Regions from separate parts of the Homo sapiens genome. Here region 1 is linked to region 2. The links are contacts of gene promoters, found by promoter capture Hi-C in human tissues and cell types (Jung and others, 2019). All regions are on one chromosome and are shown on one strand. The core of a region is centred on a gene start or on the middle of the fragment in contact, and the rest is flanking DNA. Distances in the headings are between cores, read along the strand shown. Region 1 has its middle 110 kb from the start of IYD. Region 2 holds the start of ULBP3 (UL16 binding protein 3).

The links. Contacts are between HindIII fragments. The study calls those that stand out against the background at their distance.
Region 1: a fragment that was not itself captured here is called in contact with the fragment with the promoter of ULBP3 in region 2 in 1 of the 25 tissues and cell types used here (neural progenitor cells).

The regions. Positions count from the first base shown.
Region 1 is chr6:150,256,217-150,261,784 of GRCh38, forward strand. No RefSeq gene overlaps it. Among named protein-coding and RNA genes, the nearest start is that of IYD, 110 kb to the right of the region's middle. The HindIII fragment of the contact is 3,375 bases long and covers 921-4,295 here.
Region 2 is chr6:150,067,119-150,072,330 of GRCh38, forward strand. ULBP3 (UL16 binding protein 3) reads right to left here and starts at 2,003. Exons shown (of 5, transcript NM_024518.3): 1 at 1,861-2,003. The coding sequence starts at 1,948. It overlaps LOC124901428 (a long non-coding RNA gene), which reads right to left and starts at 3,155. Exons shown (of 2, transcript XR_007059809.1): 1 at 2,640-3,155; 2 at 2,310-2,532. RefSeq lists enhancers at 1,678-1,727, 1,748-1,827, 3,025-3,892. The HindIII fragment of the contact is 17,553 bases long and covers 1-5,212 here.

The sequences.
Region 1 (5,568 bases), core at 1,358-3,857, 190 kb after region 2:
ATTGCCAATGCCCTAACCCACTCCCTTATGCTTCCATCATCTTGTTTAGGCTATCAGACAAACAAATTAAGACAGACATGTGAATACTGCCATGCAATACAGAGCAATGGATGGGAGGAAAGTCCATATTTTGTCGTCTTATCTCCAGGAAGAAATGAAGGCGGGAAGAGTAAGAATGATGCCCTGTTCCTTAACAAAACACTTTGTGCATTCTTTATTGTGTCATAGCTGTGCAAGGAAACAAAGCTATTGCATTTTATTTGGGCTGGAAATGTAAAATCTTTAAAATATAACTTTTAGAAGGAAGGCAGTTGCTCTTTTTCCTCGTGTCTTATCATGAGAGTCATTTGATCCAAGATACTGCTCCTTAACTTACGCTTTTTATTTGGAAGAAACACTAACGATACTTCTTAGGGATATTGTACAGAGAAAGTAGGTTGCACATTTAACCTTAGGAACAGAAACTGCTGTTGCTTAAGTACCGCTCACCCTTTCACCACCTGAGATGAAGAATGACTCAACCATATGATGAAACAGAGAAAGCCATGTTTCTAATGAGGCCAGAGCCTGAAGGCAGAAACCCTTCAAGAGCTGAATTTCCCATTTTGTTGCCAACAACAAATAAACTCAGTGTTCCTTCAATGACGATTAATCCGGCAAAAACCATGCAGAAATGAAGGAGCTTTAAAATGATCATCATTCATCAACCCAACCATCTCCCTTGGATACCCACTTCATTACTAAGAGAGTAATTATTTTTGTGTTGTCAGTTTTAGGGAAAAGCCCTTGAGGATTATTCATTGGTAATTGGAAAAATAAATGTTAATGTCTTCTGTGGATTAGGAAAGAATGTTTTATGACTAACTGTTTAGACGCTTCTGTTGCATTGCCTGAGTTTGGAAGCTTCATTGGTTTTCCAGCCAAGGCTTCATAAAAGCTTTCAAATTACCTGTAGCTGTCAGAGAGGAGTCTCCTCAAGGAGATGGATGAAGCTTGCCCACGATGCCGCATTCCAGGTTTTTGTAATAATGCTGTGGCAGCCCCATCTTTCTCCCGACTTTTATTTTATTTTATTTTATTTTCTTGAGATGGAGTCTCATTCTGTCACCCAGGCTGGAGTGCAAATGTGCAATCATGGCTCACTGCAACCTCTGCCTCCCAGGTTCAGGCAATCCTCCCACCTCAGCCTCCTGAGTAGCTGGGACTACAGGCGTGCACCACTATGCTGGCTAATTTTTCTATTTTTTGTAGAGACAGGGTTTCACCATGTTGCCCAGACTGGTCTCACTCTTGGACTCAGGCAATCCTGCCTGCCTTGGCCTCCCAAAGTGCTGGCCCCGACTCTTCTTAAATTGTGGTCCCAAGGCCAAGCTGTAGTGCCAGTGATTTTCCTCATTGAGGAAATGAGCTCAGGTTATTAGAAGTGATGAAGTCAGCAGGCCCCCACAGGATGAGGTTTTAGTAGCCACAGGGCTTGAGGTGCAGCCTCTGGGAACCCAATCTCTTGATCTACAAGGGTGGCTCTGGGGAATGTGAAAAAATTGGACAAAAATACTATCTAGCCCCAGCAGGAAGGATTAGGGTGGCCCTTGACAGTGTGGAGTGGTAAATACACCCATAAAAATATGTTGAAGAATGAGGGGCCGGGGTGGAATTGGCTTCCCTCTGTAATATATTGACAAAAGGGCCGGGTTTAGTTTTTCTCTGCAGAATGGTCCAAAGCAGTTGTGGCAAGAACAGGCCCAGGAAGAGCTGGAGTCTCCCTCTTACTATTAATTTTGGATGACCCCATGCAGCACCCATTCAGCCTGTCCAGCTCACATGACTACACACAGGTTTAATCAAGAATCTCTTCCCAGCCGGGGGCAGTGGTTTACGCCTATAGTCCCACACTTTGGGAGGCCGAGGTGGGCAGATTGCTTGAGCTCAGGAATTTGAGACCAGCCTGGGCAACATGGCAAGACCTCTTCTCTACAAAAAAAATATGAAATATTAAGCAGCATGGTGGTGTGTGTCTATAATCCCAGCTACCTGGGAGGCTGTGCTAGGAGGATCACTCAGCCCGGCGGTTGAGGCTGCAGTGAGCTGTGATCGCGCCACTGCACTCCAGCCTGCGTGAGAGAGTGAGAGCCTGTCAAAAAAAAAAAAAAAAAAAAAAAAAAGAAGAAGAAGAAAAGAAAGAGAAAGGAAAAGAAAAGAATCTGCAAGCTCAAACCGCAAGTAATGGGGCCATCAGCTACCTTTTATTGAGCGCTTACCGTGCCACGTACCGTGCACTTGAGTTTATTGTCCACAGAATCTTCATAGTTACACTTGCCTCAGGAGGGGATTGTCTTTCCCATTATATAGATAAGGAAACTGAGGCTTGGAGAGAGTAAGTACTGTAAGGTCATACATTCAGTAGATGATAAAGCTTCTATTTCAAGGCCAGTGATCTGATTACAAAGCCAATTCTGCTAAACTGTGTATAGCTAGTGCTTATACATGGAACTTAGACTCCAAGTTAGACTGTTACCTGGGATAGGGAGGCATGGGTGATCATGTCTTTTGCCTCTTATTTTATCTTGTATATTGTATTAGTCTGTTTTCATGCTGCTGAGAAAGACATACCTGAGACCAGGTAATTTATACAGAAAAAGGGTTTAATGGACTTACAGTTCCACATGGCTGGAGAAGCCTCACAATCGTGGCAGAAGGGAAGGAAGAGCAAGTCACATCTTATGTGGATGTCAGCAGGCAAAGAGAGAGCTTGTGCAGGGAAACTCCCCCTTATAGAACCATCAGAGCACATGGGACTTATTCACTATCACGATAACAGCACAGTAAAGACCTGCTTCTATGATTCAGTTACCTCCCACCAGGTCCCTCCCACAACACGTGGGAATTCAAGATGAGATTTAGGTGGGGACACAGCCAAACCATATATCATATATGTATTAAGGTAAGCCCTAAATTAGGTGCTAGATTAAGCAGTCTGTGGTTCAGGTACACTGATCTGAATATTTCCTCCACAGAACACATTAATCAAACCATGCAAATATATTGCAGGGAAGGGTCTTGCCCAGAACACATTGCAAGGGGGTTAGGGGCAGGGGAGTAGGGTATGGTCTTCATTGTGATTTTCTGTGGGGCTCTAGTGGACTACGGGAGACTGACAGAGTGAAAAGAATACTTGGGCCTATTATAGCCCAGCCTGGTGTCTGAGCAAGTGATTTAATCTGTCTGGCCTTCTTGGGATTCTCTTTATCTATAAACTTAAGAACACTTACCCTGACAATTCCACAGAGTAGAAGGGCTCAAATGAGCAATTAATGTGAAAAGGTTTGGCACAGTGTGAACACATACAGGGGAAAGGTCATGTTCATTAGTCTGGAAACTTAAGTAGCTACAAAGATGTGGTGCCAATCAATGAATCCGTCGATCAGTCAGTCAGTCAAGAGCAGTGATCTTGAAATCTGAATCTAGGGCTGGATGAGGTAGCTCACACCTGTAATCCCAGCACTTTGGGAGGCTGAGTTAGGTGGATCACCTGAGGTCAGGAGTTTGAGACCAGCCTGGGCAACATGGTGAAACCCCATCTCTACCAAAAATACAAAAATTAGCCAGGTACCATGGCACACAGCTGCAGTTCCAGCTACTGGGGAGGCTAAGTCAGGAGAATCACTTGAGCTCAGAAGGTGGAAGTTGCAGTGAGCTGAGATCATGCCATTGCCCTCCAGCCTGGGCAACAGAGTAAGACTCTATCTTTAAAAAAAAAAAATCTGAATCTAGCTCCAGCTCTGCTTTTACTTTCTATGTGGTTCCCAGTGCTGACTTAGGTATCTGCCCCTTGTTTTCTTCGTCTGTAAAATGTAAACAACAGCAAGATTAGAGTTCATGTGTATATAAGTGCATAGATACATAAAGCACCTTACTACTCTTACCTAATTAGGAAGATCCTGCATGCAGTTACTTAGAATACTTTTCTTGCTCATATCCAGTTTGAAAAGTAATGACCACTAAGGACCTTCTTCCTTTTTCTCCTGTTCGTCCTTCTGGGGCTGTTTCTATCATTCATCTGATCTGATAAACCATGAGTGTGAAACCAGCAGAAGTTCAGTGAAGCTGACGGCACACCTTAAGTCTGTGACGCCATGATTAGATGTCTCTAGAAGCAGGAATAGAGCATCTGTCCCCTAGGACAAGTGTCTGTACCCCAGAATTCTCAAGCTCTCACATTCCATAGTCAAGAGTTTGAAGGATCTGGAAAAATAAAAAATTTTAAAGTATCTTTGTCGTCTCTGTGTTACACTTTCTACTTTTTGATATTGAAATGTGTTTTTATTGTTTCTCCCTCTTGGGGTCATATTTGGCCAGGGAGTGGGAGTGGTAGTTGAGCAAGAATCCTAAATCCAATAGCCATCCCAGAGGGCCAAATTATAGGTGGGAAAATGGCCCACCATATCTAAGATTCAGAGGACAAGAAACCCACCTACGGAGGCACACATGTTTTTTTTTTTCAAGCATTTCTCAGAGACACTGTTTGTTAAATCAAGGACAAGGTTATGGAAGATCATCTTTAATTAAACCTGTAGTCAGTCCCTTTGGGGCTGTGTGCTGTGTTCACCTCTTAAATTCTGTATTCCAATTAGCAGAATTCTTGCTCCTGGCCCTGAGGCTTTATTTGCAGGTCTCACCATTCTTTGTTAGCTATAATCTGCTCATTTTGTCTGGAAGCACCTGCTCTACTGTTTCTTCCCATGCTGTCTCAGGGTGCATATTTTTTTCCTTTCTTGATGTGTCTTTGTTGTTGAGATTGCTACTAGGTGCAGAGTCTGCTTTCTCTCTTAAATCACCACCGCCTGCTTCTCACCACCCCTGGATATTCTACCTTTCCCCTGAATCTGCCTCCACCTGTCCATGGTATTTAATAAAGATGCTGACTGGCATTTCCCGGTCCTCCAGACCTTATGGAAGTGATGTTCCCTCCTATAATATAAGAGGAGGTCTTGCAGAAGAGATAGAGGATGCTTCCCCCCTGTTGACCCTTCCTCCAAATCAATTAGCAAAAGTCAGTTGATTTTAAAAAACTTCATCACTTTATGCATAATCATTTAAAAAGACACCAGAAAATGTGGAGCTTCTTTCCAGCAATCCACATATTATCCCTAAAAGACTCCAGCTTCCTGCAATTAAGAGCTAAAAATTACTCAGTAATTTTTTTTTTAGAGATAGGGTCTTGGTCTTTTGCCCAGAGTGCAGTGGTATGATCATGGCTCGCTGTAGCCTCAAACTCCTGAGCTCAAGCAATTCTCCCCACTCAGCCTCCTGAGTAGCTGGGACTACAGGCACGTGTTACCACACCTGGCTAATTTAAAAAATGTTTCTTTAGAGATTAGGTCTGGCTATGTTGCCCAGGCTGGTCTCGAACTCCTAGGCTCCAGCAGTCCTCCCACCTCAGCTTCTCAAAGTGCTGGGACTACAGCCATTGTGCCTGCAAGCAATAATTTTTTAAAAATTATTATAATAAAATATTTTTGATGTACAGAAAAATCTAGGAAATAATATTGAAAGATGTCTCTATTTCTC
Region 2 (5,212 bases), core at 753-3,252:
CTAGATTTAAATAATTACCACAAAGACAAAATGCAAGGATGGATGACCAGGAGGCTGAAAGTTGTCACCCCGGGAAATAACTGAGCTCCCTCGCCCAGCTTTGAGAACTGAGCCACATCTCAGACGCAGAGTCCATTACTAGAAGGAGAGCCCAGAGCCCCTGGTGGGCTCCTTCAACCCCACAGCAATTGCAATGACTCCTTCAGCCTCCCCCACAGAGCCAGATGGGTAGTCACTCTGGTAACTGTACACCATGAAACAGCAAATACTCAGACACTCCTAGTGGACACAGTGTGTGATCCGAGCTCTTCCCAGGGATGTGAAGCATTAACTTGCTCCCCTGTTACTCATGAGGTGCATTTGGGGCAAAGTAACAGATGGACTTCTGTGTCAGGTCCAGCTTAGAGGGATGTGCTGGGTTCATAGACCCATTCAATGGTAATTTCACATTTCCTGGATTTCTACCGGGAATGGATAGTGTTTGTAGTTAATGTAGTAACTATTATAGTTTGTGCTGGTCATATGACCTCCCCTGTCACTACTCAACTCTGCTCTTATAGCTGGGATGCAGCCATACACACTCTGTGATGAGGGGTGTGGCTGGACCTGCCACTACAGCTATTTGACCCTGGACTCCCTAAGATCCCAGAAGCATGTGTGGTTGGAAAAGGTGCTATGTGGATTTCATGGCTATTCCCAACCACAGAATCCAACAGGGTCCCCTAGTGCTCAGAAGCAAAGCTGTGCCACTCACAGCAGTGAAATCCCCTCATTTAAAAGTGGCTCCTGCTGTGGTCCTGGGCCCCTGTGGAGATGGGCCTCCAGCTATGGGAGGGCAGTGACCACACAGCCTCAGAGCTGCCCATCACAGGGTGTGCTCCTCACCCTTTAGGTCATTAGGAAGATAGGCCCCACAGTGAGAAGACACAGGTGGGTCTCCTGGGATGGGCAGGAGCAGGGCCACAGGGAACCAAGAAGCTGCACAAGCAGTTGGCTCTGATCCCCAGGACACCACATGGCTACACCCCCCCACCCTCAGGTCACACCTGAGGCTTCAGGGAGGGTCCCTGAATGGCCCCTGGGGACCGTTAATGCTACTCAGCAACAAAGGAGGGGAGCAGTAGGCCCCGAACCATGGGACTCCCCCTCACATTCATCACATCCACACCTCCCAGAAGCCACAGGCAGGGTAGGACACACTTGTGACTCTTCAACTTACACAACTTAGAGATGACACCCTAGGGGATGGGGCAGCAATTGCCAGGACACAGCATGTGCCCTCATCTGGAGTCTGCAACCTAGGACAGGGTCCATTTCAGGTTTCTCTTTTACTTGCAGGTTGCCATTGCCTGCTGTTGCTCTACAAAGGGACGGGACTTGACACAGAGACAGAGAACTCACGGCCAGCAAGGACCAAAGTGCCTTCAGCCTTTCCTTTCTAGAAAGGGTTTGCTGACTCCTGTCTGCTTAGTGACTATTCTATATGACGCTGGCGTCACCCATGTCTTGACCCCAGCTCGGGTTCCGGGGGCTCTGGTTTCTCCTTCCCGAGGACGAGTGGGGCTGCGGGGTTGCACCAGGGATCCCCTCCCCACCTCGCCCTCTGCAGCTTTTTGGCCCCTCCACCCTCCTGCGGTTCTTTTTTCGCCTTCTTTGACCCCCCTCCTGCTCTGCAGGGCAAGCAGCAGCCGCAGGAAGCGGACCTGGCGAAAAAGAGCAGCGAATCGGAACTGAGCGTGGGGGCAGTCCGGGGAGATCGCGCCGGTCCTTCTAGAAGGCTTCCCTCCTCTGAAACCCGCTGCAGTCCACAGCCCCCCAGGTTTGGCCCCCGCCCCGCTTAGGCTCCATCCCCGAACTCACCGGCCCGCCCCGTCCCGGACCAGTCGAATAGCAGGTACGGAAGAATCGCGAGGCGCGGAAGGATCGCGGGGCTGGCGGCCGCTGCCATTGTAGACCAGGAGCGCCCGGGACACAAGGCGCAGTCGATGTGGAGACCAGCGTATGAATCACTTCGGCCCTCGCATGCCAGCTAGTGATTGAGTGTGCTCGGCCCCGTCCGGTCCCGTCCCGCCCCGGGATCCAGGGGAGCCTACGCCTGCCCACGTTTGGAGGGATGCTCCGCCCTATCCCGCCCCGTCCCGCCCTTCCCCGCCCCACCCCAGGCTGGGACCCGGGGAGCCTATGCCTGCTGTGGCTCCGCTTCGTCCCGCCCCGGGCTCGTGGCCTGACAGCGGCCCCCTCTGGCCAACCCTTACCCTCCACCCCAGGCTCCGCGCGGGCCAGGACACGATTCCTTCTTGACCGCCTCATTTAATTTTTTAACACACCATTTATTATTACCCCAATGTAAGCACTGATGCACAGGAAAGCGAAGAAACTTGCACAGGGATATCCAGTGGCGGCTGTGTCCCCCCGTCACTGCCTCCGCCAGCGACACCTGCCCTCCTTCAGCCTGCGCCAAGGAGTCCCCGCCCCTCTCCGTCCAGGGCGCAGCTGCTTCCCAGTCCGGAGCAGACCTTCTTTGCCTCTCCACTAAAAGCATGAGGAATATATAGAATATATATAGAATAAAGTATATTCTATATCCCTTTATGACTTCTGGGAAAAAAAAGAAAGAAAAGAAAGCCCTAGTGGCCTACCGTGATCAGTGATCAAATGATCAATTGTGTTTCCATGGAGAGCAGAAGCCGAGGGAGGGTCTACGCATGCGTGGGGCTCACTTTGCTGTACACCCATCTGTGGCCAGCTACACGCAAATCCATGGCTGCACGCGCATCTCTGCCCTGTCCCTGGATGGTGACTGCAGCCATCCTCAAAGCGGCAACCCGAGTGTATCCTCGTCTCAGTCACCATGGAAACATCTAGATCTGTGGGCAGAAGCCAGAGGGAGGTGATGGGCCCAGTGGCCCTTGGCCGCAAGGGAGGGCTTTAGCCTGGGATGAGGAGTGGACAGAGATCTTGAGTGCCACTCAGGCCCCAGCCACTCAGCCCATTCCCTATTGAATGAGAAAAATCGGCACAGACCTCCCACTCCGTACAGTCTTCATGTTGGGATCACCTGCACCTGGTGATCATCAATCCCGAGGGTCCTGAGGCTGTGGGAAAGAGGAGGAGGCCTGGACAAAGCCCAGGGCCTGTTTCTGCTTCAGGACAGAGTCATGGGAGGGCAGCCACCTCTGTGACTGAGCAGGGACACAGGAGCCTAGAAGATTCTGGCCTGATGCACTAGAGCCCCTGTGCAGGAGGGGCCATGTGGAGGGTAGTTTGGAGGACAACAGACACACAAGGGTGGGCAGTTCTCAGATTTGGGAGGGGCAGAGCTTGGCGGGTCCCAGGATCTGTGTGTGAGAAGAGCCTCCCATGTACAGGGCTGGGGGCAGGAGCCCAGGTTAGTCCTGGGAGGAGGCCTCTGGGAAGGCCCTGGCAGCACCACCCCGAGGCCAGGTGACCTGGGCCAGTGACTGGGGGAACAGGAGGAAGGTAGAAGGAGGCTGGCAGGAGAGCCCCAAGCAGGACAGGAGGAGGGGCTTTTGTGCACACCTGGGCCCTCCTGACTCACCCCTGCTGCAGGCATCTGGCCAACAGACTCAGGCCTGCCCAGGATGGGGATAGAAGTGGCCCAAATGTTATTGTAATGGCCGGGATCTAGAGATCATGCATTCAGATATGGAAGTCAGCTGATATTGTGGCTGAATATTCCTGTGCAAGCTTCTTCAGCTTTCTAGGAATGGATGTCTGCATGTGGAAAATGACAAATGCTATGAACACAGATGAAATGAGCAGATTCTACAAGGAACCCTGTCCTTGCACATGCTAAGGACCCAGGGCAGGTCTCCTATTTCAGTTGTGAGGCCTCCAGCTCTCCCTGAAGTCAGCAACTGCCAGGCCCACCCTGAGGAGAGCTGGATCTCTGAGCCCAGGCCATGGCCTCTTCATGGCCCTGGGGGCGCTGTGATGGGGAGGAAATGAAAACAAGACCCACCATCAAGACTCAGGCATGTTTTTCAGACCCACAGAGGATGATTTTTCTCTCCATCACCTGGTGAGCCTGACGTGATGTAAGGGTGGTTGGAAGCTGAGTGAACCAGTGAATGAATGAGACAGTTGTGGGAGTGAATGGGACTCAGAAGAATAGCACAGGTTCAGAGGGGAGCTGGAGCGGAGGTTGTAACCCCCAGCGGCCTGAAGGTGGCAGCATCGAGGTTGGTAATTTTTTTTTTTTTTTGCCTTTTTTAGTTGTTGGGTTTTATTTGTTGTTTTCCGGTTTGTTTGTTTTTGAGACAGTCTCACTCTGTCGCCCAGACTGGAGTGCAATGGGACGATCTCAGCTCACTACAATCTCTGCCACCCGGGTTCAAGCGATTCTCTTCCCTCAGCCTCCCGAGTAGCTGGGATTAGAGGCACCTGCCACCACCCCCGGCTAATTTTTGCAATTTTAATAGAGACAGGGTCTCACCGTGTTGGCCAGGCTGATCTCGAACTCCCGGCCTCAGGTGATCTGCCTGCCTCGGCCTCCCAAAGTGTTGGGATTACAGGCGTGAGCCACTTCGCCTGGCCCCAACTTGGAAATTTGAATCTCCACCTGGGTGTCCACAAAGATTTTCCAAGGAAGAGTAACTTTGGTTTTCAACCAGTCTGGGGGGTGCTTCATCAGGATAGAATCTTCTAGAAAACATAGTGTGATGACGGACAGCAAACTGCTGTCTTCAGTTGGTTTGACTGAGCCTAGAGTGCACCAGGGCCAGGAAAATCTTGTCTTTTTCTTGCCTTTTTTTTTTTTTGAGACGTTGTCTCATACTATCGCCCGGGCTGGTGTGCAGTGGTGTGATCTAGGCTCGCTGCAACCTCCGCCTCCCGGGTTCAAGCGATTTTCCTGCCTCAGCCTCCTGAGTGGCTAGGATTACAGGCATCCCCACCATGCCCGGCTAGTTTTTTGTATTTTTAGTCGAGATGGGGTTTCACTATGTTGGCTAGGCTGGTCTCGAACTCCTGATCTCATGATCCGCCCGCCTTGGCCTCCCAAAGTGCTGGTATTACAGGCGTGAGCCACCGCGCATGGCTGAAATACTTGCCTTTTAAGCAAAGAAAGAACGAGTCTGAAAGTGGGAATGGAAATGGGAAAAGATAACCGGGCCAGGAGGAAAGAGGAGAAAAGAAGGGTTGGGGTCTGAGAGGTAGCAAGGATTCAAGCATTTCCTGCCCCATGGCCTGG